Regions from separate parts of the Homo sapiens genome. Here regions 1, 2 and 4 are each linked to region 3. The links are contacts of gene promoters, found by promoter capture Hi-C in blood cells and fetal thymus (Javierre and others, 2016). All regions are on one chromosome and are shown on one strand. Each heading gives the region's core, a stretch centred on a gene start or on the middle of the fragment in contact. The rest is flanking DNA. Distances are from core to core; before and after follow the strand shown.

Region 1 (7,014 bases), core at 3,061-5,560, 400 kb after region 3:
TTACAGATGGGTTAATACCACCATAAGCGCATGGACCAAAGTTAGGGAAAGGATAGTTTTCCAAAGGAAATGTTAGGTCCTAGTATCATATGTGGAGAGGGGATACTTGGCAAGTAAAACAGTACCTATCTACCATGTGGCCACAACAGGGCAGATCAGGGTCCCTGGTAGGATGGAGGCAGCCATCAAGCATTATGGTATCCCTGAATAATCCCTTCCCAGTTCATATGTAAACCAATCCTCTTAAATTGTTAATGCATTTAACATAAGGATGGATTCAGCAAAACTGTATCAATAGCAAAACATGAGGGGTCTCCAGCTAGTAGCCTGTCCTGCATAGCCATCCATGACTACTGCTCTAATTGATTTTTTCTAGAATGTCTAAAGGAAGATGAAAGTAGAAAATGAGCTGTAGTGGACAAGCATTTTTAAAATGAGCCCAATAATGTAGCACTTTTGGGTGCTTGATAATTGTTGCAAATCACATTTGCCTGAGAAATTTCAATTCTATAATAATTGTACAATAGCAGAAAGATCTAGATACAAAAATATTCATTGCAGCATGGCTTGCAATAGTGAAAAATTGAAAACAATTTACATATACTTCAATAAGGAAAGGTTAAAACAATGGTATACTATGCTACTATTACCTGAAAATATTGAAAAGATGAAAAGATGTCCAATAACATTTGATGAATAAAGGTTGAAAAATACATGTAGTAAAATCTCATTTTTGTTTTTAAAAAACATATATGCATGCATGCATCCATGTATAGACAAAAAGGATTTGAAAATATACAATAAATTATAGTTAATCACATTTACCTTATGGTACTGCAGAACATCAGAACTCATTCCTCTTATCTAGCTGTAATTTTGTAATCGTTAACTAATCTCTCCCCATCCTCCCCTTCCCCCTGCCCTTCCCAGCCTCTGATAGTCACAATTCTACTTTCTATTTCACATAATAAAAGTTTTTAAAGAGGGGAATAATGGGGTGGGGGATCTGGAATATACATAAAAACTCAAAAATAATTACAAATTTGTTGCCATCAAAATATAAAAAGAAAAAAATAGTTACATCTGCAAAATGGGATTGTGTGAGGAAGTTTTTACCTTTATACATTTCTACCTTCTGTATGTTTGGATTTTTACAATAAGTATGTGTTATTTTCTAGCATCTTTTGAAGTTTTTTTCTTAAAGGCATAAGTAATATCTAAAGTTATTTTTCATCCTTCTAATGCCGTCTACACAAAGATAACGATTTTTCTTGGATGGCCCCAATCTCTCTTCTGTAAGATCTTTCCCCATTTGTCATATCCATAACTCATAACCTCCTCACCCTTCACTGCTCTCCATTTTCTCTATAAAGTGAGCCCAGTCAGTACTTGTAGGCTTGTTAAGCATTACTTCTAATAAGAAAGACTAACTTGTAAAGCAAATGTGGAAATGTACTAATATAGCATCAAGCACAAAATAGCCATTCAATAACCGAACTATTTAATTCCTTTTTTTTCACACTTCATCCTTTCCCTAATTCCAGAAAGAACTTGAACTGGGTCATAACAAAGACAAATTTAGACAGACAGATAAAGATATCTCATAGGTAGAAATAAAACTGAGTGATTATAAACTAATCACAGGAGGCTCTGTTAGTCTGATGAACAGAAACACACGTGATAAAATCACAGAGAGGTAAAATAGAAAATGAAAATCAGGATCAAGAAAAGGGAAATAAAAATATGCTGGACATCATTCAATAACTATTTGCTGATGGTAATTATAGGGATGGAAAACCCATCAGGCCTATGGAGCTAAAATTAATCAGCAAGTATTCACAGAGTGCCTACTGCTTCTATTACTGGTTCTGGCTTCCTGCCTGCCCAGTGCAGAGGCTTGAGACATTTGCGTGACATTCAGCTTGTCAAGACAGAAGGAGCAAAATAAGCAGACAGAGGCTCACTGCAGCCGCCTATACCCATCATATTGTTGGAATCATATTCAAGTGAGACAAACTCCTTCAGTGGAAGACGATAAAACTAGCTTAAAAGTTGTAAACATCACTTCATCACCCAAAAAAGGCCCAATTAAGTGGAGATACTATTTCTGCAAAGCAATCATCAATTCATTTGTGTAACATTTGAAATTTCAAAGTACAAACCCACATTCTATTAAAGGCAGGAAGTGAAACCAATAAAACTTGTAACAACTATACTTAATTTTCAGGGTTCTTTCCATTGCTGACAAACATTTTAAGTCATGTCTATTCTCTTAAAATGTAAAATATGATGTTTATGTCACTGTTAATATTTTGATAAAAAGCTATTGTCATGGACATCTGGGTTTTTTTCTGCATGCCCAGAAATCCCTTTTCTCCTATTTAAATTTAAAATCTCCAATTATTTGGAGAAGCACCTCCTCTTCTCTCTCTTTCATTTGTACCCCATTCTTAGGTGTCAGTGGTGGGCACTTGAGCTAGGCTTTGCCCATCATAGTACACATTCCTGACATCCCTTGGTCATAGTTATTGGTCCAGGGATAAGCATTTGAACCAACTAGACCAGTGAAACCCCTCCCAGGAACAACTACTAAAATTATGGGAAAAGAACTCTTTCCACTGAAGTTACTAACCTGGCAGGATGTGTTAAATCCAGGTGCCACAGGCCACCAGGTGGAGAGGTGGAGATAATCTTTCCAGAAAACAAAACAAAACAAAACAGGAAAATGAAGCTAAGGGATAAAATTTAAGCCCTTTGGACTTCATTTGAGCCCCTGAATCCAGTCATGCCTCCTGAAATTAAACTTCCCCTGGACTTTTCAGTGAATCAAAAAACTCTGTTTTTAACAGTGGGGTTTCTTATAAATGCACCAAAAAATGACCTAATGAATGTTGTCTACAAGCTTCCATTAGAAGTATTATCTTCAAGAGAAAAAAAAAACAAATAACTTGAAGAAAACCCTTCATAATTCAAGTCAGTCCTGCTAACCTCTAGGAAACCCTCCGTGACCACCATCTCCATATCCACACCCATTTTCCTAACCTTAAACACCAGATGACTTCTTGAAGCTTATGAAGTGCCCTATGCATCTAACACATTTCTGTAAGTCTGCATTGTTCTATAATGACTTGTAACCGTATCTGTCTCCATTTCCTCCAGAGAAGAGATTGTTATCATTTTGATATCCCTGCAGCCTTATACTGGGGCCTAACATATAATAGTTGCTATTTTGTTGAAGGAATTGTATTTTGTTGAAGGAATTCTCTTTTGTTGAAGGAATGAATGGAGAGAATATTAATTAAGAAAGTCTCTTCTATTAATAAACATTCCCTGATTGATTGAAACCATGCCTAAAATAGCTAATCATCAGAAGACCAAAGTAAACAACATATCCAAACTGAATCCTCAAAGTGTTAGTCATTGGTAGCTGTATAGCTGAGAATCTTTCCTTCTTCTGGTCATTAGGGTTGAAAGGGTGGGTGAATGTGGAGACATGATTCTTTCTTTTGCAAAACATTTACTATTTTTTAAACTCCATAAAATGTAATAACTTCTCTTGAAAAATGTTAAAACCCAAACAAAAAAACCTGTAATGTGGAATATAGATTGTAGGTTATAATGGAGGAAGCAGGGAAAGTGGGGAAAACTGTGGTTGCCAGAAGTTTTCTGATAACTAATAGGCAAGACAATAGGGTGGCTTTTGGTAGGGTCCTTCTTTATGGCATAGCAAAGAAAAATAGGAATGAAGAAGTGAGAAGCATGAAAGGGGACAGCAATATATGTGTAACACAGGGTGATTCAGTGTGAGAGTTTTATAATTAAAATTGCCAAATGTGAGAAAAAAAAATCTACTATAAATTGGGATAGGCTCAAGGCATGGAGATGAACAAATAACCCCTCCATGTGGGCAAAAATCAATGAAATTACTAGATGAGTAGCTTAGTATGTGAGTTCCAGTTGCAACATGTTACTGGTATTTGGGGCTTCCCCTCCCCCCTCCCCCCCTGCACTTTGAGGCAATTCGACATTTGACTAACAATCCAGCCTAACTTTCTCCATCTGATATAAAGATATTTACCTTGAAATCCTAGAACTGCCAACATCTCCTACTTCCTACTACAACCCTCCCTGACTCCTTTTCTCTGGCACAGCTTTCTATGCACTCACCCCATTCAACTAAGCCTGCTTACTCTTCACCAGAAGGTCTTCTCTTAGCATAAAAAGTTCCTGGAAGTCCATCTCTTTCATAGAGCTGCTGGATGACTGCTTTGCTTACCTTTGGCCTTCAAAATACCTCTCCTGTCCAACCATAGCTCCCCAGCTCCCCTGCCATTGCAACCAATACAAACTTCGTCATCTTTCCTTGGGCCAATGTGCCTGTCTCCTCACTGCTCTCCCTGCTTTCTCCCTTAGCCCCTACAACTCATACTCCACATCGCAAGCAGAACGAGCTTTTCAAATAGTAAATTAGATTATGTCCATTAGTGTGTTAGTAAATGTTTAACAGCTCCTGAGGGGAACAGAGTATCTATGTGTTTTATAATTTTTACATATATGTATCACATAATTTACAAAAAGCAAGAAAAAATATAACACTCTTAATAGTAAATTCTATATGGCCATGTGATTTTCACAGAACCATTTCAGTGATTTTTGCAGAATATTTGTGTCCATAGCCAACCTACAGCTAAAATTCAAACACGTTTGGCAAAATCAGACCACAAATAAATATCTGATTAATATCCAATCAGCAAAGAAGTCATTCATGGTACTGAAGTCCCAACATGAATGTTGGTTGATATTTTTACATTAATGAGCGAGATAAAAGTGAAGCAACAAAAATGGATGTTGGAACTAAACTCGTTCATTAATGACAGAAGTGACTTCTTTTGCTGATAATAGCTTTCAAGTACTAGAAAAATATTTCCTCAAGTTTTTGTGTTCACAAACTAAGGCACTTTTAAGTTCAATCTTCATTATTAAAATTTCTTCTACTCTGTCAGTCTAGACAATCAACAAAACAAATCAAGCTCTGGTTTGTCATGTTTCCCAATTTCTATAGTATAGGTACTCCACCATGGTTGATTTCAAACTACCAAAATAACATTTCTGAATGCAGCGTTAGGAAGGGATACGCTGCATCATACCATCGTATGGTATGTTCTTATACAGAACAGACAGAAATAACTTTAAGAACATAGATAATAGTAAAATGGAGTAAAATAATTAGGCAGTAAAGTCTTCAGCATTTATTTTTGTTGTTAAAATATTTGATTGTGAGTTTATAAATAATTTGGTTTTTAATAATGACTGTGATTAACAACCAACTTACAAAATCTCTGAAAATTTAACAGTCAGTGCTTGCAAGCTGGTACAATTGTTTCCGGTGCACTACTGAATTATCACTCCCCTGCCTAAAATTCCAGACTGCCCATTGCACTGATTCCCTGGGAAATAAGTGAAAAGAGACAATGATAATTTTCATTTTTGTTGTGGTGAAGTGATAGTGCAAAAATTCCATAAGCTCCTCTAAGTTTTCCAAATAAAGCTTAGTGTTTAAAAACGTTTGAACACATGATCCCATGTAAGGCCTACATTACTTCCTGTGTGATAGGTGGGGTAGATATCATTATCCTTCCTTTACAGATTGAAAAACAAGGCTGAGAAAAATCAAATGCCTACCCCAGGCTCATTCAAGTAAGTAAATGGCAGAATAGGGTCTAAAAACCAGGTCTTGTATTGAAAATTCAACAAGAGGATAGAGAAAATTTAATTGACAAATACTGATCTCAAAACAATTTTTTTTTCAATGGTGACAAATGTCCTTTGTAGCACTTTGGAGTTTGATATGAAGTATCTTCTTATCTTGTTAAGGGATCCCTATACCAAGAATGTTTTCATCTCAACCCCACTATTTCTAAGTTAGCTTAAAAACAAAACAAAACCCTGTGTGCTCTAATAAGAAGATATAAGAACCAAAATGGAAATGCAGGTTCTCAAATGAGCTGAAAGATTCCACATAGCAGCGGGGCAGATTGAAACACTCTTTACCAAAGGAACATGGGAGAGAAAAGGAGATTAAATCAAGAAAGGAAGAAAGCTAATGACATATGAGGAGCCACAAATGCCACAAATGAAAAAACAAAGTACGTAATACTTGTTGCAATTATTCAGTGTGCTTGCTCTAATGCCTCCAAACATTAAAAACATTGAGTTCCTGCTTATGGCAACATTTATCTCATTTATCTGCTGATAGCTGCCTCATCCTTGAATCAGGTATTGCTTAAACTAAGTTCTGCCAGCATAAAGAATAAAGTCAACCAGGACACCCATTGGGCATTTCACGCATATGAGCACAAATTGTGATATTTTAGGTTGCTTATGATGAAATCATTGAAAGCATCATGAAAGACAGCAAAACAGCAGGAAAGCTAGTAATAATTTAGCATTTCCCAGTCCAGGCGGGAATGTTAATTCTAATTACAACGAGGAATACCAAAGTGGAGTTCATTATGATTAAGAACTTGCTGTACTAGTGTGAATTGTTTATAATAGGCATGTCTGGCATAAAATACAAATATTGAAGCAGACAGAGATGGCTCATTCAAAGCTCAGCTGGGTTCCCTTGAACCTCTTACCTTATAAAGTTAAATAGGAATAGAAGTATTTTCCAAAGTCAAGATATTATTTTAAAGAGACAAATAATAGCTATGATAGCTGCAGGAATAATTTTTTAAAGTAAGTTCTAACCACCAATAAAAGCTGTTTGTGTGGGCTTAACATGTTCAAAATACACAATACACATGTACACAATACACGTATACATGGTTCCCATTTATATTTAACATCACACATTTAAAGTGAGAGAGTACAGAAAAAAAGAATAAATGGAAACTGAAGCCATGACAAAGAATCACGGACTATAGGAAAATAAGTCACAAAGAAGTATGCTTATGTAAGAGGAAATATATGTGATAAACAACAGGAGACATGGGAATGAATGTGGTGTCTTAT
Region 2 (7,394 bases), core at 2,335-4,834, 480 kb after region 3:
TCATGGTCTGCCCGCCTTGGCCTCCCAAAGTGCTGGGATTACAGGCGTGAGCCACCGCGCCCGGCCAGCAATACAGTTTTTAGTTACTCGACATCTTTAAGCCTATAACTCTTAGGCTATGCATAGCCCCATGTCCTAATCAGGCATTCACTGATCCCAGCAGGTCTCCATCTATTTGTACCAGCCTCCTCTTTCCTCCCAATCTCAAGGTTACTCTTAAATACTAGTAAATGCAAAAAGAACTTGTAAAGTGGCAAGGCATGGCCTATCAAAAGTCAGCCCAAGGGCAGTTTTCAGCCCTGCCTCACCTGGGTCTAGTTCAGCTGACGGATGAGCTGATTGATGCGTTCACCCCGATAGCCAGGTGTGCCCATCTCCTTGAGGAAGCCCACTCTATTTTTGGTAGCATGATGGGCCACTGAGAGGTGGAAAGGGCGCAAGAACCATGAGATCTCCTGGAAATGCTTCCCTGGGAAGGCAATTTCATGAATGAGGTCTTCCAAGCAAATGAAGCCAAACTTCCCCAGGTGCTCCTCAATCACTGTGTTGTCTGTCAGAGGGATGGTCTTATTCTTGACCTTGGCTTGTCCACGTTTCAAAATGAGTTCTCGGACAGACTTCAGATTTGGAAATCCCCAGGTCACATAAGGTTCCACTATATGCAGCATTTTTAGATTCTAGGGGGTAACTTTTACAAAGATACCACTAAAAATTTTCTTTAGGCGAAGTCTTGCAGTGGTTCTCTGCACCCGTAAACTCACGCCATCAATCCTTTCGATGCGTACAACAAAGGCCAAGGAATGTTTATCTGGCAATTCCAAGGCATGAGGTTTCACTTCTAGTCGTCTGAGACGCACCTTGTCACGTTTCTGCCGCCAGGAATCATGTAGGAATGATTCCAGTCGCTTAAACCTGAGCCCTTTTCCTTTCTTCTGTCTTGCTACTGCCATCTTTCTAGTGGTGCAGCTACTCAATTCTTTTTTTAATTATAATTTTTATTTTAAGTTCCAGGGTACATGTGCAGGATGTGCAGGTTACATAGGTAAACATGTGGCCATGGTGGTTTGCTGTACCTATCAACTCATCAGGTATTAAGCCCGGCATGCGTTAGCTATTTTTCCTAATGCTGTCCCGCCCCCCCACCCAACGGGCCCCAGTTACACTCTTAATCCTTATAGCTCAGATGTTATGATCCACAGTGTGGTTCTTACAGAAAGTTATGGATTAAAAAAAAAAAAAAACACTCAAAGTGCCCGAACTTTCTTAAAATAATCCTGGTACAGCTAAACTCATGCACTGACTGTCCACCTAATATTTAACAGTCTGTGTTGTGATATATTGTTTTAATGTTCTGAATGCTTGTCAGCTTTCAGTATTGAAGATGTGAATCATTTATCAGCAATGACACATTTAGTCTAAGGTTGTCAGCTATTTATGCTACAAATTAATGACTTGTCCTTAAAATATCAATTTTGTGATTCATGTTTTGGCAGGTGGTTAGATGTTTTGTGTTCTAATTTTAAACTATGGATAAAGGTTTTGTCATAATCATTGTTTTATTGGTTCCTTTTCTCCCCTGCCCACTCCCCAAAAAACCCTGCAATTCTTTTTTGTTAAACTTTTATTTTAGGTTCAGAGGTACATGTGCAGGTTTGTTATATAGGCAAATTTTGTGCCACAGGGGTTTGCTGTACAGATTATTTCATCACCCAGGAAATAAACACAGTACTTGATGGATAGGTTTTTAGTCTTCATTCTCTTCCCACCCTCAAGTAGGCCCCAGTGTCTGTCCTTCCCTTCTTTGTGTCCCTGTGTACTCAATGTTTAGTTCCTAGTTATAACTGAGAAGAACATGTGGTATTTGGTTTTCTATTCCTGTGTTAGTTTGCTTAGGATAATGGCTGCCAGCTCCATCCATGTTGCCGCAAAGGACATGATTTCATTCTTTTTATCGCTGTGTAGAATTCCATGGTGTATATGTACCACATTTTCTTTATGCAGTCTTCTGTTGATGGGCTTTTAGGTTGATTCTATGTCTTTGCTATTGTGAGTAGTACTGCAGTGAACATACACATGCATGCGTCTTTATGGTAGAATCATTTATATTCCTCTGGGTATATACCCAGTGATGGGATTGCTGGGTCGAATGGTAGTTCTGTTTTAAGTTCTTTGAGAAATCATCAAACTGCTTTCCACAATGGCTGGATTAATTTACACTTCCACCAGGAGTGTATAAGCATTTCCCTTTCTCTGCAACCTCACCAGGATCTATTATTTTCTGACTTTTTAATAATAGCTGTTCTGACTGGTGTGAGATGGTATCCCAGCACCATTTATTGAATAGGGAGTCCTTTCCCCATTACTTGTTTTTGTTGACTTTGTTGAAGATTGGATGGTTTTAAGTGTGTGGTCTTATTTCTGGGCTCTATTCTGTTGCATTGGTCTATGTGTCTGTTTTGTACCAATACCATGCTGTTTTGGTTACTTTAGCCTTGTAGTAGTTTGAAGTCGGGTAATACGGTGCCTCCAGCTTTGTTCTTTTGGCTTAGGATTGCTTTGGCTATTTGTGCCCTTTTTTGATTCTATATGAATTTTAAAATAGTTTTTTTCTAATTCTGTGATGAATGTCATTGGTATTTTGAGAGCAATAGCACTGAACCCGCTAATTGCTTTGGGCAGTATGGCGATTTTAACAATATCGATTCTTTCTATCCCCTGCAATTCTTTGTTGTTGTATTTAACTATTTTTACTTGTGAAGTTTTTTCAGGGATGATTTTGTTGAAAGTGACAACTCTAAAAATTATGTTGGTAATTAAAATTTTAAGTAATGACTTTTATTTTCAGAGATTCCACTTCTCTTAGACTTTGGAGCTGTTAACAGCAGTGTCCAATCTGCAGTGGTACTCAGCAGTTTCTGTTTCCTGCATGCAGAACTGCTTATATGAAAACACAGTTTTAAAAATGCTTTCTTATGGCTGACATTCACATTCTTATTCCTTTTGATTCTTTTCAAGAGGGATTTGGTTTGTTAAAATTAATTTTTGCAATACTTTTATGAAGATACAAACTCTGACAAAGCTTTTAAAACAAGTTTGAGAGAATACAGTATTGATTTCACTTGTAAATCTGACGATTATTTTAGAAAAAAGGAAAATATTATTTACTATTATTTTGCTTATAAATGTTTATCAATTTTAAAGCTTCCACATTGCACATCTCCCACTACAACAGTAGCTACCATTTATTCTTTCTCAAAAAAAGTGCTAAGTGTGCCCTTGAAATTTTTACATTGTGCAGAATATCCCTAAAATTTTAAAACAAAAATTACATCATCACTTGCTTTAAATGTTTCTTCTTTATTTAACATACAGTTTCTAAAATGTTAGCAAATAGCATTTTAGAAGAGACACGTTACTTTTCTAATGAATGTTCTAAAATGAACCACAGTAACCTATACTTACTTAGACTGTGAAAAACAAAACTTATATTCTATTGTTAAATTTTCAAAAGTGAAACTACACGATAGTTTACTTGGCACATCACTCTGTTATTGTGAATTGACAAATGTATATGTAGACAAATATGTGAAAATCAGAGTACATATACATTATATGCAGCACCACAATACATTTTTTAGTATGTTTTGACTGATATTTAATTATATAATTTACCAAGAGGATCTCACCAGAATGTAGAAAAGTATTGAATTTTAGAACAATTCACATATTTAAAAAAAATGTAGTCAGCCCTTTTATCTGTATCTGGAGAATGCAGGGTAAAGGAATAATACATGAGTATTGGTATTTAAAAAAAGGTGTTAATTTCTTACCTATGATACCTGTTACTTTGGGTATCATTTAACCTTTATTTCTGTGAAATAGAGGAGTTCTAACATCCTCTAATTATTATAATATTGTTCTAATTTAATCTATCTTAATCTGTGATACAGTTTGAAAACCAAGCTTTTACTATTGGCATGTGCAAAAAAATAAAGCAGCAGTAGACTTGGAATCTTGAATGCAAATTTAGATTTTGCCTCTTAATAAATGTATAATATAGTGTTCTGGGACCAATTCTCTAACATTTCTGAGTCCTAGTTTCTGCATCTGTCAAATGGGATTAGAGATACCTACTTTCAGGATGTGATATGGTTTGGCTCTGTGTCCCCACCCAAATCTTATCTTGAATTGTAATCCCCATATATTGAGGGAGGGACCTGGTGTGAGGTGTTTGGATCATGGAAGTGATTTCCTCCATGCTGTTCTCGTGATAGTGTGGGAGATCGCAAAACATCTGATGGTTTAAATATGGCAGTTTCCCCTGTGCTTTCTCTCTCTCCTGCCACCATGTAAGACTTTCCTTGCTTCCTCTTTGCCTTCTGCCATGATTGTATGTTTCTTGAGGCCTCCCCAGCTATGCAGAACTATGAGTAAATTAAACCTCCCTTATAAATTACCCAGTCTCAGATATTCTTTATAGTAGTGTAAAAACTGACTAATACAGAGAATTGGTACTGGCAGGGTTGGGTACTGCTATAAAGATAATCTGAAAATGCGGAAGTGACTTTGGAACTGGGTAACAGGCAGTGGTTAGAACAGTTTGGAGGGCTCAGAAGAAAACTGGAAGATATAGGAAAGTTTGGAACGTCCTAGAGACTTGTTTTGAATACTTTTGACCAAAATGCTGATAGTGACGTGGACAATGAAGTCCAGGCTGAAATGGTCCCAGAGATGAGGAACTTATTGGGAACTGGAGCAAAGGTTATTTTTGCTATGCTTTAGCAAAAAGACTGGCAGCATTTTACCCCTGCCCTAGAGAACTGATGAACTTTGAGATGATTTAGGGTATTTGGCAGAAGAAAATTTCTAAGCAGCAAAGCATCCTAGTGGTGACTTGGCTGATTCTGAAAGCGTTCAGTCATGTGCATTCACGAAGATATGGTCTGAAATTGGAACTTAGGTTTAGAAGTGAAGCAGAACATAAAGGTTTGGAAAATTTGCAGCCTGACCATGTAGTAGAAAAGAAAACCCCATTTTCTGGGGAGGAATTCAAGCCAGCTGCAGAAATCTGAATAAGTAACAAGGAGTAATAAGTAATAATAAGTAAAAAGTAATAAGTAATAAGTAACAAGGAGCCAAATGTTAATAACCAAGACAATGGAGAAAATGTCTCCAGGGCATGGCAGAGATCTTCGGGGCAGCCCCTCCCATCACAGGCCTGAGAACTAGGAGGGAAAAATGGTTTCCTGCTCAGGGCCTTGCTGCTCTGTACAGCCTCACGACATGGTGCCCTGCATCCCTGATGCTCCAGCTCCAGCTGTGGCTGTAAGGGGCCAAGTTACAGCTCGCACCATTGCTTCAGAGGGTGCAAGCCCCAAGCTTTGGCAGCTTTCACGTGGTGTTGGGCCTGCAGGTGCGCAGAAGACAAGAGTTGAGGTTTGGGAACCTGTGCCTATATTTAAGAGGATGTATAGAAACGCCTGGATGTCCAGGCAGAAGTCTGCCATGGAGGCAGAGCCTTCATGGAGAACCTCTGCTAGGGCAATGCGGAAGGGAAATATGGGGTTGGATCCCTCATACAGAGTCCCCACTGGGGCACTACCTAGTGGAGCTGTGAGAAGAGGGCCTCTGTCCTCCAGGCCCCAGAAAGGTAGATTCACCGACAGTTTGCAGTATACGTCTGGAAAAGCCACAGAATGCCAGCCTGTGAAAGCCACAGGGGTACCCTGCTGAGCCACAGGGGCGGAGCTGCCCAAGGGTATGAAAGCCCACCCCTTACTTCAGTGTGCCCTGAATGTGAGACATGGAGTCAAAGGAGATTTTGGAGCTTTTAGATTTAAGGGCTGCCCAGCTGGGTTTCAGATTTCATGGGGCCTGTGGCCCTTGGTTTGACCAGTTTCTCCCATTTGGAACAGGAACATTTACCCAATGCCTGTTCCCTCATTGTATCTTGGAAGTAACTAACTTGCTTTTGATTTTATAGGCTCATACGTGGAAGGGACTTGCCATGTCTCAGATGAGACTTTGGTCTTGGACTTTTGAGTTAATGCTGTAATAAGACTTTGGGGGACTGTTGTGAAGGCATAATTGGTTTTAAAATGTAAAAAGACATGGGATTTGAGAGGGAGCAAGTGCAAAATAATATGGTTTGGCTCTGTGTCCCCACCCAAATCTAATCTTGAATTGTAACCCGCATGTTTTGGGGGAGGGACCTGGTGGGAGGCAGTTGGATCATGGGGGGGTTTTTTCCATGCTGTTCTTGTGATAGGGAGTTCTCAGGAGAGTTGATGGTTTAAATGTGGCAGTTTCCCTTGTGCTCTTTCTCTCTCCTGCTGCCAGGTGAGACGTGTCTTGCTTCCCCTGCCCCTTCCACCATGATCATAAGTTTCCTGAGGCCTCCCCAGCCATGCAGAACTGTGAGTCAATTAAACCTCCTTTCCGTATAAATTACCCAGTCTCAGATAGTATCTTTATAGCAGTGTCAGAATGGACTAATACAGGATAGTAATGAAGATTACAGAATATGTAGATGAAGAAGTGCTAAGTAAATAGCAGCTATTATTATGTAGTCAAATTGAATGTATACATTGTGGTACTTCAGTGTCCTTTAAATTGAATAACTAGAAATTTGTTGGCTTTCTCAATCTGCTCACATCAGATGACATGTTAATTTATGCCTATACTTTTTTCTAGTTAATAGATATAAATCTATTCACTCAACTTCTATTGACAGAACTGGTAGTGTGGCAAGACATCTCATTTCTAGTTAAGGCTGTATAATATTAAGTTCATTTTACTTAAATTAACTATGGTTTGGGAAATGCTTTTCATGTCATCATGTATGCCCAATTTGATACTTTAGTGGGACAGTATATTTCAGAAAAAAACAAATGCTTCCCCAAAAATTCCAGGGTTGAATACATTAGTCAGACATATAACAATGTACTTCAGAGTTCCTCTAAGGGCAAAAATCGTGGTATGAATATACAAAACACTCCTATTTATACTTTTGTATTTTTGAAATGTAGTCTTCATGTTAATTTAGCATTTCAATGACCAGCATGACATTATCTTAATAATTTGGAATGCCAATATGTTCATTTAAGACTTAATATAGTAAGTATCTAAAGAAAAAAATGGAAGTGACTGAATGCTTTTGTATCTCTTAATTATAATTTGTGCTCCATTGTGATATGAAGGATAGAAGGGGCAGGATAGATAGAAAACAGAAATTAACTTTGATGTTTAACCTTACCTTAAGACTGTCTGTTAAGTGACCCACATAATCTTAAAAAACTCTGTCAAGCTTAATGGATGCTACTCTGCAGGCCCCTGCCAGGCAACAGTCACAAGGTTATGAGGTGCATAGATTTTGGAATTAGGCAGAGCTGAAT
Region 3 (7,089 bases), core at 4,272-6,771:
ATAGCCAAACCAAGATAAGCAAAAAGAACAAATCTGGAGGCATCACATTACCTGATTTCAAACTATACTATGAGACATAGTCACCAAAACAGCATGGTACTGGTATAAAAATAGGCACATAGACCAATGGAACAGAATAGAGAACCAGAAATAAACCCAAATACTTACAGCCAACTGATATTTGACAGAGCAAACAAAAACATAAAGTGGGGAAAGGACACCCTTGTCAACAAATGGTGGTGGGATAATTGGCTAGCCACGTGTAGGAGAATGAAACTGGATCCCCATCTCTCACCATATACAAAAATCAACTCAAGATGGATTAAGGACTCAAATCTAAGACCTGAAACTATAAAAATTCTAGAAGAGAACATTGGGAAAACCCTTCTAGACATTGGCTTAGGCAAGGATTTCATGGCCAAGAACCCAAAAGCAAAGGCAATAAAAACAAAGATAAATAGCTGGGACTTAATTAAACTAAAGAGCTTTTACGCAGCAAAAGAAACAGCAGAGTAAACAGATGACTGACAGAGTGAGAAAAAAATCTTCACAATCTATACATGTGACAAAGGACTAAGGACTAATATCCAGAATCTACAACAAACTCAAACAAATCAGCAAGGAAGAAAAAAATCCCATCAAAAAGTGGGCTAAGGACATGAATAGACAATTCTCAGAAGAAGATATACAAATGGCCAACAAACATATGAAAAAACACTGAGCATCACTAATGATCAAGGAAATGCAAATCAAAACCACAGTGCAATACCATCTTACTCTGCAAGAATGGCTATAATCAAAAAATCAAAGCACAGTAGATGCTGGCATGGATGCAGTGAACGGGGAACACTTTTACACTGCTGGTGGGAATGTAAACTTGTACAACCATTATGGAAAACAGTGTGAAGATTCTTTAAAGAACTAAAAGTAGAGCTACCATTTGATCCAGCAATCCCACTACTGGGTATCAACCCAGAGGAAAAGAAGTCATTATGCGAAAAAGATACTTGCACACACATGTTTATAGCAGCATAATTTGCACGTGCAAAATCATGGAACCAATACGAATGCCCATTAATCAATGAGTGGATAAAGAAACTGTGGTATATATATACAATGGAATACTACTCAGCCATAAAAAGGAATTAATTAATGGCATCCACAGTGACCTGGATGAGAATGGAGAGTATTACTCTAAGTGAAGTAACTCAGGAATGGAAAACCAAATATCATATATTCTCACTCATAAGTGAGAGCTAAGCTGTGAGGACGCAAAGGCATAATAATGACACAGTGGACTTTGGGGACTCAGGGGGAAAGGGTGGGAAGGGAGTGAGGGATAAAAGACTACAAATAGGATGCAATGTATACAGCTCATGTGATGAGTGCACCAAAATCTCAGAAATCACCACTAAAGAACTGACTCATGTAACCAAACACCACCTACTCCACAATAACCTATGGAAATGAGAATATTTAAAAAATATATTCTTGGTAGCAGAATAATATTCTCCCCCAAGATGCTCATGTCATAATCCTCAGAACTATGGCAAAGGATAATTAAGTTTGCAGATGGAATTTAGATTGCTAATCAGGTGACCTTAAAATAGGGAGATTCTTTTGGGTTATCTGAGAAAGCTTAATGTAATAAAAGGGCCCTTAAAAGTGGAAAAGAGGGCTGGGCACAGCGGCTCACGCCTGTAATCCCAGCACTTTGGGAGGCCGAGGCGGGTGGATCATGAGGTCAGGAGATCGAGACCATCCTGGCTAACAAGGTGAAACCCCGTCTCTACTAAAAATACAAAAAATTAGCCGGGTGCGGTAGCGGGCGCCTGTAGTCCCAGCTACTCGGGAGGCTGAGGCAGGAGAATGGCGTGAACCCGGGAAGCGGAGCTTGCAGTGAGCCGAGATTGCGCCACTGCAGTCCGCAGTCCGGCCTGGGCGACAGAGCGAGACTCCGTCTCAAAAAAAAAAAAAAATACAAAAATTAGCCAGGCATGGTGGCGCTCACCTGTAATCCCAGCTACTTAGGAGGCTGAAGCAGGAGAATCACTTGAACCCGAAATGTGGAGGTTGCAGTGAGCCAAGATTGCGCCACTGCACTCCAAATCCAGCCTGGGCGACAGAGCGAGACTGCATCTCAAAAAAAAAAAAGAAAAAAATACAAGGAAAAAAGAAAAAGTAAAAAGTAGAAGAGGGAAGCAAAACAGGAAAGTTAAAGGGATACATTACTTTGAAAAAAGGTTAGAGAGCTGCAACATTGTTAGCTTTAAAGACGGAAGATGGGACCATGAGCAATGGAATGCAGGTAAATCTGTAAGTTGGAAAAGGAAAGGAAAAGGATTCTCCCTAAGAGCCTTCAGCTAAAACCACAGCCCCACTGACACCTTGACTATAGCCAAATAAGGCCCTGATTGGATTTCTGTCCTCTTAACTGTAAGATAATGAATTGTGCAGATTTAAACTACTAAATTTGTGGTAATTCAGTATAGCAACAATAGGAAACTAATACAGAATTAGGGAAAAGTTCAGTAATTTAGGTCTCTGAACTTTGTTAGAAAGGTCAGTTCTCTCTTCTCTTCACCCCTAATCCCTTCATTCATGGAGCTTGCCCCATGGTGACATCCTACAATTTGCCAGCTTTGGGAACAGTATCAGACAGAGCAACATTTGCATTTTTGCACCATCCATGCTGCAAAGCTGAGCAACAGAAAGGTTTGACGGGATAACAAATATCAACAAATGAGAGCTAGGTCAGGAAGAAAACCTGGTAGAAGCCACACAATATTTGTGCAATAGCCACAGGTATTTGTGGGCACAGGTGAAGCACTACTTTGAAGGATAACTTTTAGTGGGGACAAATTCCATTTTGAGAAAGTAGGAGACTAAAAGATAAAATTTTTATAATTATGACTCTATTTGTAGGTGAGGCCAGCTTGGATTATGCTAATAATAAGGTATACACTAATACTGGTTACTTTCTGAAGTTTATGACATAATTTTAAATATAATTAGAGACGATTGAAGATTACCCCTATAATGACAGCATCCTTGCATATTAGTTTTTCAATATCTTGAGTGATAAAAAATGAGGAGGATGTGAGATGTTGTGCTGGGAAGTGCACATAGGCCTCAGACTGTCCTCTCTCTGACAGCTAAGTCCTGAGTGAGCTCCTACTATGAACTGAAACGCAAAAAATGGAAAGAGCATTTGTTGGGGCCAGTGTAAGTCAACTGTTTCCATCCTTATTCCTTAACTCAAAAACTCAAATAAAGAAAGACATTGTCAATTTCATGAGCGGTCCATATTTTTTTCTATTGACGAGAGACAAAGAATAACAAATAAAAGTATTTTATAAGGATATGAGTTATAAAATTAACTTTTTGTTATCTCCAAATTGTTATTTTGCAAGGAAAAAAATATAAGTAACAAATATGAGTATTCCTTTTTTTGGATCCATATTTGGCTGGATGCAGCCTGGACAGGTGTCATGGTTATAGATTATTGTCATGTGTCTCAGTTGTGATTTCAGTATGCTTATTGCTAGTTCTTTTATTTTGCCAATGGCTACATTTTTAATAAAGAAAAAGACAAGGATAGATGAGGAAAATATAGAACATTTTTATCTTCAATGCATGTCAGTAAGAATGATGCTATGAAATTTCAGTTAATAATGAAATTGGAGCTACAAAGACCAAATCATAAATAAAATGAATTTGCAATAGTGTTACTCATAGTAACACATAAAAATATGAAAATATCATGTGCCATATTTGCCTCTGCACTGAGTTATATCTGTACTTCTGCTTCAATACTGTAATTGGCCATCTCATTTCTATTGCCTATGGAGCAAAAGTCTGAAATAAAAAAGGTATGTTCATATTTATTACTTATATTTTTTTCCTTGCAAAATGACAATCTGGAGATAAAAAAAGTTAATTTTATAATTCACATCCTTACAAAAGAATTTTATTTGTTATTCTTCCAAAGGAAATCCACATGCCATTTACTTTATCTCTCACCAATAAAAAAAAATATGGACTGCTCATGAGACTGACAATGTCTTTCTTCATTTGAGTTTCTGAGTTAAGGAAACAAGGATGGAAACAGTTGACTTATGCTGGCCCCAACAAATGCCCTTTCCATTTTTTACTTTTCAGTTCAGCTAACATTTATTGACAGCTTTTACTGTGCCAAGCACTGTGCTAGATGCCAAGGATACAGAAATGATTAAAACACAGTTCCTTCCCTCAAGAATCCCATGCTCTGATGGAGGAGGCGAACAAGTGCTTTAGGCCAAAATGTAAAACTATGAGGGCACCAAAAAGGGAGTGGTTTATTTTGCCTGGAAAGAAATAAAACCTTCATAGAAGAGGTGACATTTGAAAGGGGCCTTGAAGGAAAAAAGGGAAGGTCGGTAGTTGTCTGTATGAAACAATAAAACAGCATAAAAATTCTAAAAGAAAGTTCTGTTTGTATTCTGTGGGCTACCTGTGCAACTGGATCTGAGCATTCCCTGGGGTGGCTGAGGGGGCTGTGTGGACCAGACAGAGCACAGGCTTCCCCGGCCTCATCAGTCCAGGCTGAGTGACCTCCAGTTGCAGGAAGGAGAAAACAGCAGATCCCTTCAGTGCACGGCACCAACACCTCCTATAACGTCAACCCAGGGCTCCGTGTGTCCTCTTCAAGAGGAGAAAACAAGACAAAAAAACAAACAAACAAACAAAAAACACGACAGCAGGGCCTTTCTGCCATTTCCTGGCTCTGAAATGAGGTTAGTGAGTTAAGGAATGAAGCCATCGTGTCTTTATCTGTAAACTGGGGAAAGCTATACCCCCCTCAAGTGCTTCTGTGAGGATGAAAGAGAGAAATGCATGCAAAGCCCCCGGCACATGATCCTAAGAAGTGGGAGCATGGCGATGATGGTGATGATGGTGGCCATGCTAAGGATAAAGGACGGGTCTGGTCTCTGGGCTGCCTTGGGAAGCCTGAGCATCCCACGCGGTGGGCAAGAACAATGTGATCTTGGCTACCCTGGCTCCGACCCAGAGGGACTTCCTGCCCATCTGCACTTCCCTTGCCGTTGTCCTTGTGGCTCAGGTGGTGCAGGCAGCTGCTCCAACTGCTGCCTCTGGTGCCCTGACAGCTGCAGGCAGCCAGGCAATGGGCTATGAAACCGAACCTCAACTGGAAACTATCCGCCCTAAATAATCCCAGCAACAAGGGCCGTCTCACTCCTCTCCCCTGCCTTCCGCCATCCCTGTTTTCACCTGTTGTGGTTTCCCTCTCATTCCACCAGCATTTTCTTTCATTTTCTCTGCCCCTTCGCTGCCTCTTTCCCTCTCTCTCTGTTCTCCCTCCTCCTCGCTCCCTCACCTCTTTTTTCTTCTCTGCATTCTGGCTGCTCCTCCAGTTCTGGTTTCTCCACTGTGGTGTGGCAGAGGATGTGAGGTCAGAAGGCTCAGGGCCTGCCCGGCTTCTGAGATGCGGGGCAAGCCGCCTCGGCCTCCTGGGATGTGGTTTCCTCATCTGCAGAATTGGACCAGAATGACTCTGGAGTGTTCCTTCCGTTCTAAACTCCCGTTCTGTTACATTGTGTTGTGTTAGCCTTTGTGCCTGCTTTTCCTGCTTCAGCTGTCTCATCTGTCCACCTGCCTCTTCCATCTGCATCCCACCACTCGGGTCCAAGCTGCCAGCATCCCTTGCAAGGACCCCTAGAGCAGCCTCCTGCTATTGGAGGTCTCTCTGCTCCTGTTCTTATCCACATCCAATGTGTTATCCACACAGAATCCACAGTGACCTTATCAAAATAGAGATGAGATTGCTCACTCAGCTTAAATCCTCCAAACTCCTTTACACCCCTTTTCTATCATAGGTCCCTGTTTATGTTCTTCAGAGTAATTATTATTGCCTGAAATTATCTTTATTTACTCATGAATTTCTTAATGTTGATGTATCATTTGCTGTCTGTCTTCCACACTAGAATGCAGGCTCCAGGAGTGATGGACTTGATTGTCTCGTTTACTCCATATCCTCACTGGAGGGGCCAGCGCCTTTATTCTCTCCATAAACACTGAATGAAGGAACCTCCCTTTGCCGCAGAATCCATCTCTCCCCTTCTTGAGAGTATTCTCTCCTAACCACACCATTTCTTACTTAGAAATACCTGTGCCTGCCAGAAATCCTGCCCATCCTTCTCTGTCATTTCTGATATAATTCCCCTCATTCACTTTTCTCAGTCAGCCGGGTCCTGTGTTCCCATGGGCTATGGTAAAGAACAATGGCAATGATGAAGCTAGTTCTTCTTTCACTTTAATGTCAATCTGTGCCGTTGGATGCCTTAAGATAAAATAACTTAACAACTCTGAGACTTGAATCTAGTTAATTGTCTTACAATGCTGAGAAAGAGACTTCTTTAAGAAAATATATTAAAACTTCCAAAATTCTGTGCTTGGTTCTTGGGGAGATGTTAGGAGTAGCCATTTTCTTTAAAACACCTCTTTAAAGTAGGTAATGTTAATATGTCCATTTTACAGGTAACAAAACTGGGATTTAGAGAGTGCACAACTGGACAAGGCCATAGAGCCAGAGGTGCATGGAGCCAGGATTTGAATGGAAGAAGTGCAACGCCAGACCCAGGCACCTAGCCACCACATGGGTGACCCTAGTCACCCTCTCACTCCCTAGATTAGATTACTCTGCATTATTTTCACCATAACACTTATAAATACCTGATGCGATCATATTTCTTGTGTCTATTTGCTTCCATTATAACATAAACTCCATCCAGGCAGTTACCATATCTGACCTGTTCACTGCACTTATTCCAATACTTACAATAGTGCCTCATACATAATGGACGTTCAATAAATATTTGCTAAATGAATTAGTTATTTGCATATTGAGGATGAGATATGAAAGAAGGCCTGATAATTCTGTATATAAAACTCCATCTTAGCCAGGCACTGTGGCTCACACCTGTAATTCCCAGCACTTTGGGAGGCCAAGGCAGCAGGATCGCTTGAGCCCAGGAGTTTGAAACCAGCCTGGTCAACATAGACCTCATCCCCACACAAAAAAAAATAATA
Region 4 (7,311 bases), core at 4,628-7,127, 500 kb after region 3:
AAGCAGGCAGTTGGCAAGATTCAGGAAGCTTCATTTGAAGATAGAATTTAGGGCGATCGTTTGGATTTACTGGCTTAATTACTTAAGGTAACATTTATAAAAGAAATTGTCATTCCATTATTATTACCTTTTAACTTTTATTCCTAAACGGAACATTAGCAACAAACTACATTACTTGATAAATGTAATTTCTAACCAGATTGATAACTAGAAAAAAATTTTAAGTTACTTTGCTCTGTGAATTAGTTTAAACATATTTGTAATTGAGACTTACTACTGTTATTGGCTGAAATAAATAAAAGCAAGAGATAATAAAGAATAACAGAGACAACGAACACCCAATTTAAGTTTATTTCTAAGTTCCATCTTTTTTAGAGAAAAGGCAAATTAAGAAAAGTTTAGAGAGAGGTACTAGTATATTTATGAACTTGTATAGATGATAAGCAAAACGGACTTTAATATGTAGAATTCCAGAATCAACAGGTTGCCAGCATCCATGTTTTTGAAGATTTGCTTAAGAACACAACCAAAAATGGAATGGGCAGTCTCTAATTACAAGCAGAAGGCTACAAAATCATTTTAGCTGCATAATACAGTTTTGGTTCTAAAGTCAGCACGTAAGAGGAAAATTCCTTAGGAAAATACAACATTGAAAACCATTGTGTCATGTAATATGAAATGCAATAATTAATTTTTCCTCCAGTAATAGAAAGATCACTGTTTCATTGGTTTATAAAAATATATCTTTATCATTAAATGTGGCAAAATGTTAAGACTTGGTGAATATTGGTGAAAAGTATATATCCATTGTACAATTCTTTCCAATTTTTTTTGAGATTGAAAATTTTTAAAACAACAAATTATCTTTTAAACAGCTAATAATCACTAGACCTGCACTCTTTGTGGTGAGACTATGAAAAATGTTAGAGACCTAGTAAGAGAAGCAGATTCACATTTCTGTCTTCTTCTTCAAGCCAAACAGTCATAGAGTGGAGTGGGCAGAATGGAACTCACTTTTGAAAGCCTAGTGCTTTGTCCAATCTTACTGCAAGCCAGACAGGAAGGTTATAGAAAATGTTTCTGGATCAGTCTTCTCTGAGTCATATGAAATTGTGGTTTCAGCCAAGATGACATTAGGAATTAGAGACATGGGACAAAAACTTTAAGATTGTAAAAAAATTTTGACTCTAGTAGGAAACATGGGTAGAATTGTAATGACACTTGATTGAATTTTAAAAGATGCCTGTATAAGATCTTAAAATTAGGAAAAAAATTATGGCCTAAGCAATTAAAGGCATAGGAGGCATCTTTTTGGGATGATGGAAATATCCTCTCTCCTGATTGTGATAGTAGTTACATGAATATTCATTTAACAAAAACCATAAATTATAGACTTAGAAAACAGTAAATGTTACTGTATGTGACACCTTAATAAACGTGATTATAAAAATAAATCCTAAGCATCTAAAAAAAAAAAAAAAAAGAAGAAGAAGTGAACCAGAACCACACCATTCTATTTTGGAGACACTTCAAAAGAAATGACCTCATTCTTAATTTTGTTTAAAGAAGAATATAACATGATTTGAATATATTTAGCTAGGATATTTTAGTGCCTGCTAGCACTTGAAGCCAGAGTTCACTGTGAGCATTCTGACTATGAAGTGAGAAGCTAAGAGAACTGTATTTTGATATTCCTTTGACAGTTAAATCATAACACTGTTCTTCCCCTTCTTTAGCCCCAGCATGAGACCAGATGTAAGCTCTCCTCCATCCAGCTCCTCAACAGCAACAACAGGACCACCTCCCAAACTCTGCCTGGTGTGCTCTGATGAAGCTTCAGGATGTCATTATGGAGTCTTAACTTGTGGAAGCTGTAAAGTTTTCTTCAAAAGAGCAGTGGAAGGTAGTGTGTGTTTTGAAGAGTTTATTTTTCCTCTACTTGGTTTTCATTTCTCAGGGTGGATTTTGAAATTTCCATTATATGCAAAGCCCATGAAAGGCTAAATATCAGTTAAGAGGGGAGAGGAGGGTGGCTCCTAGGTCCTCTAATGGGCAGGAAAGTATTTAAAACAACAATACAAAAAGATCTAGAATAAAATAGAAAAGTACAAGTTGATGTCTGGGAGTTTGGTCAGGGAGCATAAGGTAACACTATAAGAAAGTGCTATCATATGAAATGATGGTGTTAAGTTTGGGCATAACATAATGTTCATTGTATTAGAAACATGGGCTTTAACTTCCATAAGCTAATAGGTTTCAAAGTCACCAACTTTACTGGCCTGGCAAAAATGAGTCACAGTGAGAACTGTGACAGGAAAAAAAAAAGATATTCATTTCATTTCTTATTCATTTTTTTTTTCTATTAAGCCAGGGCACTGTGCTAAGTGGTATAAATACCAATAAGACCTGATCCTTACCCTCTGGGAAGTCACACTCCACTGAAGTGAAAGATGAGTTAACAATGACAAGGTACAGAGATTATAATATAGATGAGGGAGAGAGAAACTCGGCCTGAGGAGGTCAGGAAAGGTATTTTAGAGAAACTGATTTCACTATATAAATGTTGTATTAACACAAATCTTACTTTGTTATGGATTCAGACTGCTGACAGGGCAACAGCATTATCTCCCTAAAGAATGAGAAATTCATTCCATAGCAAATTTATTAGAAGAGAGTCTAAAATGTCCTAATACTACCAGTGACTCCTCTAGGAAAAAAATTGTCATATAATTTAGTTATTTCTAAAGCAGTTTGAAAGTAGCTTGGCCTAAAGCTCTGATTATATTAATTTTTTAAAGAAACAATTATTCATTCACTGTATGAGGATTATTATTATTTGTCTCATGTTGTGTTTGCATATCCATGAGAGTTAGATGAGTCATTTTCTTTTGTTTTACTTTTTAATACATTAGCAAATTATAAAATTACTCATATTACACCACAAAGATTACAAGGATGGCAGCTTTGGCCAGTGTAGTAGTCCCACCTATTGATTAGAGTCAAAAGTAAAGCCCAGCCCTGCTTTGTGCATTGCTCCTAATAAAGTGGATGTTACTTAACACATACGCAGAAGACAGAAGCGTCTTCGTGTCCTCACTTTACTCCTCACTTTCTTAACTGCTTAAGTATTTCCACGATATAAATGCAGTGATAATAATAATACGGACAGTCCCTGACTTAACGATTTTTCAACTTTTATGATGGTGGGAAAGTGATACGCATTCAGTATGGCTCCTCGACTTACAATGGGGTTGCCTCCAGATAAACCCATTGTGAATTGAAAATATCTTACACTTAGCACTCCATTCTTAATACCTGCTAGAATTATAGATTATCCCTCAAAATTGGCATAGTATAATATGGGTATCAGCAAGTTGTTGCACTTTATTCAGAGCTTTACACTAGGCAGGGGTGGGCTTTACTTTTGACTCTAATCAATAGGTGGGACTACTACACTAGCCAAAGCTGGCATCCTTGTGGTCTCTGTGGAGTAACGTGAGTAGCATTATAATTTACATCCCCCATAACAAATGATCCAAGAGAGTATGTGATCAATGCAGCAGAACTATTGTCTTTTATTATCTGATTTCACATGTAACATGCCATCACTTCTGCCATATTTTATTGGCCACACAGACCAATCTTGGTAAAGGACGGAAAGGGACTGCACAAGACCATGCATTCAAGGAGGCAGAGATCACTGGGGGCCATCTTGGGAGGCTGGCTACCACACCCACCATAAATAGAAAACCAGAATTATTTGCCAAAAATAGACTTTAACCACAAAAATGAATACCATATAAACAAAACAAAGTCACAAAATTTCAGCTGACTTGAAGACTCATCTTTCTATTAGTTAGAAAGGGAATTTACCAAGTAGTAGAAGACACAGGAACTCCAAAATAAGATATCTCATTGTCTTATCAGAAGGGTTGACAGGAAAATGGGCTGGGCACTGTGGCTCAAGGAAAATGGGCTGTGCACTGTGGCTCACACCTATTATCCCAGCAATTTGGGAGGCCAAGATGGGAGGATTGCTTGAGGCCTGGAGTTTGAGACCAGCCTGAGCAACATAACGAGACCCCGTCTCTACAGGAAAAAAAAAAAAAAAAAAAACGTTATCCAGGCATCGCACCTGTAGTCTCAGCTACTCAGGAAGCTAAAGCAGGAGATTCAGGCTGCAAAGAGCTATGACACACCACTGTACTCCAGCCTAGGCAACGTAGCAAGAACTTGTCTAAAAATAAATAAATAAATGAGTCAAGGAATGAATGAATGGATTGACAGGAAATGACTATTAGTTGTACGTGGCCATGTGTTATGAAATAGTGAATACTAGTTAAAACTCCTCATTTTATAGATAAGGAACAGATAGATAGACTTGTCCAACTTCATGCTAATAACCACAAAGGGCTATTTTTAACTTATGAAGGTACATTGCCTCTGATCCTATAGCTCAGAGTCTTAGCTGTGCACAAGACATACCTGGGATAAAGAAATCAAGATTGGCGTAATGTGCACATCCTGACATTTCAGTTGGATATAAACAAAACTTTGGAATTTTTCATTTTTAGCAGTGGGTGATTTTTTTTCTTTTTTTCTTCCAGTAACTGTAGGACAGTGATTTAGAGATTCCTTATAGGGTATAACTTTTTTGTATTATAACCACTTCATCAATAGATGTATCTGTTGATCGTACTTTTGATTTATAGGGGATAGAATTGGGTTAGTGCTTCCATTTTCTGTCCAAGTAAAGAAGCTAGGATATTTATAGAGTACAAAAAGAAATTGAAACAGCTGGTACAGATATTTGGCATTGGAGAGCAGCTCTGAACAAAGGTGAATTATAGTCTAGTGGTCAATTTTGTGGCCTATTCTTTACAAAGAATTGAACCTGATACAGTTAACCATCTACCCCAAACTATTATTTGTTTAAAACACAATCTATTGGCTGGGCGTGGTGGCTCATGCCTGTAATCCCAGCACATCGGGAGGCCGAGGCGGGTGGATCACGAGGTCCTGAGATCGAGACAATCCTAGCCAACATGGTGAAACCCTGTCTCTACTAAAAATATAAAAATTAGCCAGGCGTGGTGGCGTGCACCTGTAATCCCAGCTACTCGGGAGTCTGAGCCAGGAGAATTGCTTGAACCTGGGAGGCAGAGGTTGCAGTGAGGTCATGCCACTACACTACTACACTCCCAGCCTGGGCGACAGAGCGAGACTCCATCTCAAAAAAATAAAAATAAAAAAACATAATCTATCAAACTGTGTAAAACACAGTTTATCAAAAAAGTAGTTACCCTTGGTGGGTACTGGCTGGAATTGGGCAGAAAGGGGGCCTGTTGGGGTACTGTTCTGTTTCTTGATCTGAGAGCTGATTACATAAAGGTTCTTGGTTTGTAAAAATTTATTAAATGGTTCACTGATTTGTGTACTTTTTTTATATGTGAATACTGCAATAAGGTTTTTTATTGCACTGTTTTCAGTTTGTTGAACAGAAAAAGGGAGACTCTTTTTGTTGTTTTTGACCTCTCGACCTCATAATGGCAATGTAGGCAAGAACATTCCCTCAAGGCAATACCTGTGGGTGTCTTGGTTATATTCCACCGGAAACAAAGACAGAGGCTGTCCTTATAAAATATGTTTGAAGACCTGTGAAACTTTAATAGTGCCTTTTATTCCATATAGGACAGCACAATTACCTATGTGCTGGAAGGAATGATTGCATCATCGATAAAATTCGAAGAAAAAACTGCCCAGCATGCCGCTATCGAAAATGTCTTCAGGCTGGAATGAACCTGGAAGGTAATATAAATATCTGAAAGCAATTGTTTGTCTCTGTAGCTTATAAAAATTTATCATTTTACTTTTGAAGATACACGTAAGCAGATGTAATTAATGTAGTCAGTTCAGTATATATATGCTTGACTAGCATAATGTTACTGCCCAATAAAAATGGGAAATTTTTTTCATGAATATGTCATATTGTTTGTTTATCCACCAGTTCTTCTTACACACACTGAATTCAGTACAGCCAGACTATATACAAAGAAAGGAAATTATGTAATAATGAAACTTACACAACATGCAGCAACTTTATTATTCTTACTCCTTTTTTCAGCCTCAAAACTATTCCCTAGGGTTGGAAATGTTTCTGTATCAGACATATTTACATGTCCATTTTTCTGTTTGCCTTTTAAAAGCATACCTTTTACTTGGAGATCTGTGTTTTATTACAGATCTTCAAGCGGGGGGTGGTGGGAAAAAAAAAACCTCAAGGAAGAACTGGATGGGTTTTGTTTTGGTTTTCAAGTAAAGAAGAAACCTGGGCCGGGTGCAGTGGCTCACGCCTGTAATCCCCGAAGTTTGTGAGAATCCTTCTGTCTAGTTTTTATGTGAAGATATTACCTTTTCCACCGTAGGCCTCAAAGCGCTCCAAATATCCACTTGCAGATTCTATAAAATGAGTGTTTGAAAAACTGCTCAATCAAAAGAAACGTTCAACTCCATGACCTGAATGCACACAACAGTGAGAAGTTTCTGAGAAAGTTTCTTGGTCTCCCCGCACTTTGGGAGACCAAGGCAGGCGGATCACGAGGTCAAGAGATCAAGATCATCCTGGCTAACATGGTGAAACCCTGTCTCTGCTAAAAACACAAAAATTAGCGGAGCGTGGTGGTGTCACCTGTAGTCCCAGCTACTCAGGAGGCTGAGGCAGGAGAATCACTTGAACCCGGGAGGCAGAGGTTGCAGTGAGCCGAGATCACACCACTGTACTCCAGCTTGGCGACAGAGCAAGACTCCGTCTTGGAAAAAAAAAAAAAAAAAGAAACCTGAAACTAGTTATAAGTTAGAGTTTCATATCCCTGTTTATATAACAAGTTGTATAATTAACACTGATCTCAGCATTAAAAAATTTTCCTCTGAAAAAAGTTTGGAATTCTGCTGTGGTTGAAATTGCAAGTTCTGTGAAGGTAGTGGTGATCTCATAACACATATGCTTAGTATTTATTGTGAAATTAGCACTTTTATTCAACAAATATGCACCAACAAGGCAGTCACTAGGTATAAAATGAATAAAATAGTGCCTGTATTCAAGTAGTTTATCTGCTAGTTAGGTTGCAGAGTCAGTCACAAAATAGCATGGCACACCATAGAGGGCATAGGGCCACAGGAACAAGAGGAAGGTCACCTAATTCTGTCTTGGAAGTCAAGGAAGAAGTAACATTGAATTTTAAATCTATAAGCTGAGTAGGAATTAGATAGATGAAAAATAAGGGCAGAGACATGATCAGATTTGTATTTTAC

Evidence for each region. Contacts are between HindIII fragments. The CHiCAGO score rates a contact against its expected background, and 5 or more counts as called.
Region 1: a fragment that was not itself captured here is called in contact with the fragment with the promoter of HMHB1 in region 3 in 3 of 17 cell types (endothelial precursors, M2 macrophages and M0 macrophages); the score reaches 7.3 in endothelial precursors.
Region 2: a contact is called between a fragment that was not itself captured here and the fragment with the promoter of HMHB1 in region 3, in 2 of 17 cell types (M1 macrophages and naive B cells). The highest score is 5.6, in M1 macrophages.
Region 4: a contact is called between a fragment that was not itself captured here and the fragment with the promoter of HMHB1 in region 3, in 1 of 17 cell types (monocytes). The highest score is 5.9, in monocytes.

What each region holds. Positions count from the first base shown.
Region 1 is chr5:143,409,256-143,416,269 of GRCh38, reverse strand. It overlaps a transcript of NR3C1 not described here. Among named protein-coding and RNA genes, the nearest start is that of NR3C1, 9.1 kb to the right of the region's middle. The HindIII fragment of the contact is 2,480 bases long and covers 3,071-5,550 here.
Region 2 is chr5:143,326,160-143,333,553 of GRCh38, reverse strand. The region is part of intron 2 of NR3C1 (nuclear receptor subfamily 3 group C member 1); the gene reads left to right. It also overlaps the pseudogene RPL7P21. Among named protein-coding and RNA genes, the nearest start is that of NR3C1, 74 kb to the left of the region's middle. The HindIII fragment of the contact is 762 bases long and covers 3,204-3,965 here.
Region 3 is chr5:143,810,593-143,817,681 of GRCh38, reverse strand. HMHB1 (histocompatibility minor HB-1) reads right to left here and starts at 5,521. Exons shown (of 2, transcript NM_021182.3): 1 at 5,378-5,521. The coding sequence starts at 5,414. The HindIII fragment of the contact is 5,854 bases long and covers 1,641-7,089 here.
Region 4 is chr5:143,308,594-143,315,904 of GRCh38, reverse strand. It overlaps NR3C1 (nuclear receptor subfamily 3 group C member 1), which reads left to right. Exons shown (of 9, transcript NM_000176.3): 3 at 1,737-1,903; 4 at 5,692-5,808. Among named protein-coding and RNA genes, the nearest start is that of NR3C1, 91 kb to the left of the region's middle. The HindIII fragment of the contact is 8,081 bases long and covers 1,837-7,311 here.